2 separate regions of the Homo sapiens genome follow, and region 2 is linked to region 1. The links are contacts of gene promoters, found by promoter capture Hi-C in human tissues and cell types (Jung and others, 2019). All regions are on one chromosome and are shown on one strand. The core of a region is centred on a gene start or on the middle of the fragment in contact, and the rest is flanking DNA. Distances in the headings are between cores, read along the strand shown. Region 1 holds the start of TMPRSS7 (transmembrane serine protease 7). Region 2 has its middle 63 kb from the start of PLCXD2-AS1.

Region 1 (3,471 bases), core at 459-2,958:
CATGATGATAGTGAAAAAGCAGCCTTTGGTTGGTTTTATGATTGCTTTTAAATTTGGTACATTTAACACAGCCTCCTGATATTTTGCTGCCACTTTTCACACTTGGTGGTGTGAAAGGGAAAAAAGGATGGGGGGACACTAGTTAAAGGCTGTAAAGACAGATTTTCTTCAGCACTGTTGCAACGGGAGAAAGTGAATTCGATATAGAGCTGAACTCAGTTCCAAATACAGCAAAGAAAGCTGGGGATTAGTAGTCAATGAAGAGAGTGAGGGGGTCCATGGTTGGAAAATTACTAAGGGGAAACACCAAGGGGCATCCTTGCTAAACTGACCAATCAGGATTCTTGTTACAGGCAGCCAAGGACTTACATATCAAGGGTAGGGGATAAAGAACTTGATCAGATATCAAGGGTATTTCAAGGCCACTCTTGAATCAAAAAAAAAAAAAAAAAAAAAAAGAAAGAAAGAAAGAAAGAAAAGAAAAAGAAAGCAAAATCAAGGGTGATCAGATATCAAGGCGGGGGGATTCCTGCTAAACTGACCAGATGGGCCAAAGACAAGGCCCAAGGACAAGGTCTAGTTGAAAAGAGAGCTCAGAGTAACCTGACAACACTTTGGTCAAGAAGAGAGTCTTTGTCAATGGCCACCGATAAGTATACAAATTTTACTTATATTGGTGAAATATGAGTTAGTTCTAGAAATAGGTAGAGAAATAATACTGGAAAGATGAGCCATTAAAAGTAATATTATAAAGTCTAAACCATTATTAATAATTTCATCAATGTGAATAATAAATAACAAAACCCAAGAGGCGAATTTGTACATGACTTAATTCTTTTTTTTTTTTTTTTTTTTTTTTTGTTATTCTGTCTCATCTTCCCCAAGTTAGATCAAATTTCAGGTATGAAGCAACTCAACTAATCTTTCCCCACTTTCAGCAGGCAGTTTCTCACTTGCCATATGCACAGCCCGTGAATGATGCTGAAGTTTGTGTCTGGATCAGCAGAACAGTGTTTCTCCTTTAAAGCGTGACAGATCAGCTTTCTGTTGACACCCAGTGCCCACAGGGTGATGAGGTTCCAGCAATCCCTGCCTTTTTCTCCCCGTCTGCTAAGAGAAATTCTGACACTGCCCCTCAGGATTGGATTATTCTTCCCACCATGGATCTAATTCAGATTGACATTGGGAAGTATGGGAGAGATGGAAACAGGGGCTTTACAGCAGAAAGGGCCCCAGGTTTACTGAGGACTGACTGCAAGAAGTAGGGGGAGCTAAATGGAAAAAAGTCCCTTTGGATTATGAGTTCTCAGAGAGTATGGCTGGAGAGTTGAGAGCAGGACTGAAGAGTGAGTCTCCTGGAGCAGGCAAGAGATGCCACGCAAGAGAAATGAGGTGTGAGGACTTCTCAGATGTGGTGCTGAGGGTTGTAAATTAGACCTCTTCATATTCTTTAGGAGATGCAAGAAAAAAATTATAATGATTTTTAAATGTTACTGGATTGTAGGATTGTGTTTCTTATAAGAAAACCTTGCCTTGAGGCTGGCTGTACTCTGAGAGGCCTGACTCCTATGAAAGTTACATTGAGAATCCTTGAGTTTGGGGTGCAAAGCTGAGTGCTAGGTCCCTTTAACATTTACAATATAGCAATGAGGCGGCTTCAGTTTCTGAACTGAACCCGGTGGAGGTAAATTGATTCCACTCCTCTGAAAGCTAGCTTGAATGCGGTGACGGTTCTCTCAATTCTTCTCAAGAGAGCATATAAGGGGCAAAAACTGGCTTTGAGACACCCCTGGATGATCACACACAAAACGCCTAATAATGGACAAAGAAAACAGCGATGTTTCAGCCGCACCTGCTGACCTGAAAGTAAGTACAGGGTGAGAAACTTTCTCTTACTTGAATGCCATTTATTGTTGACCCTGTTAGTAAAATGAGATTGTATGACCTTATAAACATAAAGGAAACAATAATAAAATATTTTATCTTCTTATGGTAATTAATGGGTTTTACAAATGTGAGCTTATTATAAAGTGCTGTACTTGGCAATTGATTTGTAGCCGTTTTTCTAAAACTCCAGGGAAATTGTACTGATCTCTACACAAATTCCATTTTAAAATTTAATCAGTGCTAACTGAGACTGCCTATAATGTGTTTCTGCACTTAAAAGATCCAAACTTGGCTTTGTCAGTTCAACATGTACTGGCATTTCTGCGTGTTTCTTTATTTCTTTTGGGGGAGCACTTGAAAGTAGCTTGATACCATCGACAACTCATTCTACAATGGAATGTTTCTCTCTTTAGAAACCCAGTCCTCATTCCTGCAGGACACCACATTAAATGATGTCTGGTCTAGTTCAATTTCACCAGAAAGGATACAAGCAACACTTCACTCCAGGGGTTGACAAGGTGTTTGGCAAAAAGAATGAAGGGGCCATGAATAATTCAGAGTGTACGTGGCCACGTATTATCCCATTAATTGGCAAGATTAAAGACTGGAGGGCATGAATTTTGAAGAGAAGAGTGAGGGAGAGGAAAAGAGAAGGAGAGAACTCTTAAGGACAGTGCAAAAGAGAGATTATTTCTTTGGCATTGGCATTCCATATTGTTGCCTTTAAAAGAATGTGTGGTTAAAAGCTATTTCGTCTCTGGAGTTTAGTTACCCTGACTTGTATAAATCTCTCCTTAAATGAAGCTAAACTCTTGAATACATTATTAAAGAATTCACAGCATCAAATAGCAGAGGGTAGACAAGAAAATAAAAGAGGAGGAAGGGAAACAATTAAATAATGTATTTTTTACTCTTGCACATAACACTATGCACATCAATACACTTAAACCAACAATTTTCTAATCTAATGAGTGTTCTATTTCATTCTTCCATTTACTTTTAAATAATTATTTCATTTATAATTGAGAAACTGTGGCTGGCAATGGCAGCGGCTGGCAATGGCAAAACAAACATATTTAATTCCTATAAACCCACAACCCTACAACCGTATGTAAACACACATGCTTTACGAACAATTTGTGCAGTTACAAATTGCACAAATTTGTACAATCTATGCAAATTATCATATCACCTTTACTTTTCCTTCCTACCACCCAGTCATGAAGCTGTAACTAGGAAATCAATTCATTTCTGTGGGGAACTCACTTATCTTCTTATTTTCAATCCTGCATCAGCCCAGAAATAATTGATTGTGAGAGAAAAACAATATAATACAAACATGTGAAACACACACATATACTAAAAGGACTGTGGACAGGCATAGTGGCTCACACCTGGAATCCCAGCACTTTGGGAGGCCAAGGTGGGTGGATCACCTGAGGTCAAGAGTTCAAGACCAACCTGACCAACATGGTGAAACCGCATCTCTACTACAAATACAGAATTAGCCAGGTGTGGTGGTGAGTGCCTGTAATCCCAGCTACTTGGGATGCTGAGGCAGGGGAATCGCTGGAACCCATGAGG
Region 2 (3,471 bases), core at 398-2,897, 290 kb before region 1:
ATGAAAATTCTCCATTTTCCATAAGAATAGTATTGTTATAGAATACAGTTGTGTTGATAAATTATAGTCCAACAAATTAAACTAAAATAGCCCAACAGAGGCATCCTAGGCCTGACATCATTGTTGTCTTTCTCTGTGGCTTTATGCCAATTTTTACACATCTTGGGGATGGCTTAGTTTCACATCTTTACTCATCTGCGTTCTAATTTTGGATAACCACAAACATTTATTGATGGGTTATCCACTCAGTTCAGCAACAATCATCTACTCTTTCCCAGAAGTGTGTTAGACACTGTCTTTGACATAGGATTAAATAATCTTGCCACTTACCAGAGATGAGAAGGTTTTAAATTTATCCAGTAGGCCAAACCACAGCTTCTTTAGAGTCCTCTATATTTGTGTGTATGTTAGTGTGTGTGTATGTGTGTGTCTGCCTGTGTGTATGTATCTGTGTGTGTATGTGTACTTTTAATCATTATACAGTACCAAGAAGATAATGGGTTCTCAGTAAATATTTGTTGGTGATACTAAACTAGTAATCAGCTAGGAATTTAATCAAGAAATTGATTTATAAAAAGAAAACTGGAATTGCTAGGGGAGACTAAAGAAAGAATCAGAAGTGTTAACCATTGGTGTAGAGGGAATAGGGCATCAAGGGTCTACTTGCTCTTCTGCCAACCCCCAACTGAATGGTACAGCACATAGGAGACCTCGGTTGTGTTTGATTCTGCTACTACACACACCAACAGGGCAACTCTGGGCAAGTCACTTCGGCTTTCGTGGCCTCAATTTTCTCATTTTCAAAATGGAGGCAGGGGATTGAGAGTATAACATCTCTAATGTCTTCTCTAGTTTTGATATTCTGTGTTCTATGAAAAACTAGAAAAGTTTACTTCAGAAAGTTCTTTACGGAAAATACAGAAATAATTTTAATTTATCTAGGGAGATCATTCCTATCTCTTGGGTAAATAAGGGGAATGAAAAAGCTGCTCAAGAGATCCCAGCTATGCCACCTTGAAGATGTTATAAATTGGTGAGTCTGGGCATTGATCTTTACTAGAGAAGAAGCCCACTTGGCTGGGAGAGTAAAGAAACCACATCTGAATTCTCTTGTCCAGCACTCAGCTTTGCCACGCCTGTGTGCCACTAATGCAAGCTCCAGCAGGCAGTCAGTCATGACTATCATTCTCTCTTTATAAATAAACGGAAGCCCTTAAAGGTGACGTGACTTGCCCAAGGTTACAGAAACATGGCAGTGAGTCAGATGGAACTGTGTGTGTTTGGAGGAGGAGGAGAAGATGACATTATAAACAAAAGGCAGAGAGTGAGGGACAGATCCACACCTCTTCTGAAGTTAAAAAAAAAAAAAACAAAACAAACAAAAAAAAAAAACAATGGTCACAGGCTACAGAAAAGCTTTGAGTCTGCTCTGAATCCTGAGATCACCCCTGTCTCCCTGCCTCTCCCTGAGCCACCCCAGGCACCCTGCCCAGGTTTACTCACCCAGGTTGTTGCTAACTGGGTGCCTGTGCTCGTGTCCCTTCTTGTAAGCTTCATAAAAGGCTATTTGTAATGAAGAGAGGGCATATCAAAGAAGGGAGACTGCATCCTCCAGGCCCCGAACCAAAAAGGCAGGTTTTTTTTTAAGAGGAAGTCTGGTTTCCCTATTAAAATCTGCAGAAATGAATGGTCCTCAAGATGACTAGCAGAATTATGACATTCTATTTCAAGCATTTTTAAAATTTTTTTTTACCTGAGGTTATTTTACTTCTGTTTGCTCTCCTTCTCCACATAAAAAGGAAAGAATAATGCTTGCTCACTATGATACTGTATGAGAGAAGGCAGCCCGGGCAGTACAACTCAAAGGAACCTACTAATTGCACCAAACAGCAAGGCACAGCTAGACATTTCAGTAAATAAAGTGTGATATCATCATGGCTCACACGGGTTTACCTTATCACCCAGACCCATGCCTAGGGAGTGCTAAGACCCTGAAGAACCACAATCACAAGTGATGGCAAAGAACCTCTGGTCCAAGAAGAAAAACGCTGAAAGAAATTGGACATCAATGATCTTATGTCTCAGTTGCATTTAGAGGCTGCATCACTTTGCTGCCTATTATTGTCCTCATTAAATATGAGAGAGAGAGAGAGAGAGAGAATTAATTAACTATCATCACCAGGGGATATCTGGTAATTTTCGAGGTACATGAAGTGGGCAGACGATGCCATAAATTCAGTAAGAACACACTGATTTCTTGGCGGAGTCTTCAAGTGACTTTCTGCTTTACTCCACAAAAATCTTACTGAGTATACCCACTTCTCTGTTTCTACTCTATTCCTAATATCTAACTAACTTCTTCTTAGGTAGTCTCTTGGGAAGAAGGATAGATAACACGTAACACAATATATAATGCTTAGTTGACTGTCACAACCGTATTAACTACACTCACTTTTTAGAAGCCACAAAACTAACAATCACCAAAAGTCACCCTTGGCTTGCCCCCCCACCAAATACATTCACTTAAGGTAGGCTAGGAAGAGGACAGGCTTATGATTCAACCATATAGTATCTCTTAACAAAGTCAGAGAATCAGAACAGCCCATGAGTCCAACAATGATTATCAATGTCAAACTTAACTCAAATACAGACCTCAATGCCTCATTTCATGCCCATCAAGTTAAAAAAAAAAAAAAAGAAACAGTGGGGAGAGGAGAGGGGGGAGAAAAGCTAAAAACAAAGAAATATGAACAATGATGACAAGGTGCTGAAACATGGAGACAATCTCACATAGTCCTAATGCTAACCACCAAGTACCAGCTGGCACCTTTACAAGTTCTCCAATCAGTGAGCACCATTGCTTCTTGAATTGAACTGAATTCCTATTATTGGACTGGATTCTCTAGCACTGCCAGCTTTCTAGCAGGAGAAAAAGAGTTTCAGAGCATGAGGTAAAATAGAACTCTGTTTTCCTACTTTCAAAAACTCATCTCATACACCTACCCACAGCCCTCACTCATTGATAGTCAAGGAAGTCAGAGTCCATGGGTCTCCCATCTGTGCCCGAGCACCTGTCTCACAGTGAAAAAGGGAAGAGGGGGCTTATCCAGTAGAGGCTTTCCAGAAGATGCAGAACTGTTTCTGATAATCCCATGCTTCACTGCCCACTAGGCCAAAAGAGAGGGAGGCAGCATTTTCAACAGAGGAGACTTTCATGCCATAAATCTTCAGGCATTTGTGGGCACCAAGTGTCTTGCTGTGACTGAGATGGAACTAAAATAATTTACAAGTTTGTGTGTGTCCATGTGTGTGTGTGCATGTCTCTGTGTGTGTGTGTGTCTGTGTGTGTGTGTTACGTGGAAAGAATTTTAATATGAGAAGGGCATTAAATCAGTTTTGCAACAAGAAAAATCCTTTGTCTGGACTATTTCTGGGTGTTGGTTACACAAAACCTAAATAGTTGTTTAATTT

Evidence for each region. Contacts are between HindIII fragments. The study calls those that stand out against the background at their distance.
Region 2: a contact is called between a fragment that was not itself captured here and the fragment with the promoter of TMPRSS7 in region 1, in 1 of the 25 tissues and cell types used here (aorta).

What each region holds. Positions count from the first base shown.
Region 1 is chr3:112,033,028-112,036,498 of GRCh38, forward strand. TMPRSS7 (transmembrane serine protease 7) reads left to right here and starts at 1,709. Exons shown (of 18, transcript NM_001395507.1): 1 at 1,709-1,866. The coding sequence starts at 1,819. The HindIII fragment of the contact is 15,104 bases long and covers 1-3,471 here.
Region 2 is chr3:111,738,218-111,741,688 of GRCh38, forward strand. It overlaps a transcript of PHLDB2 not described here. Among named protein-coding and RNA genes, the nearest start is that of PLCXD2-AS1, 63 kb to the left of the region's middle. The HindIII fragment of the contact is 3,475 bases long and covers 1-3,385 here.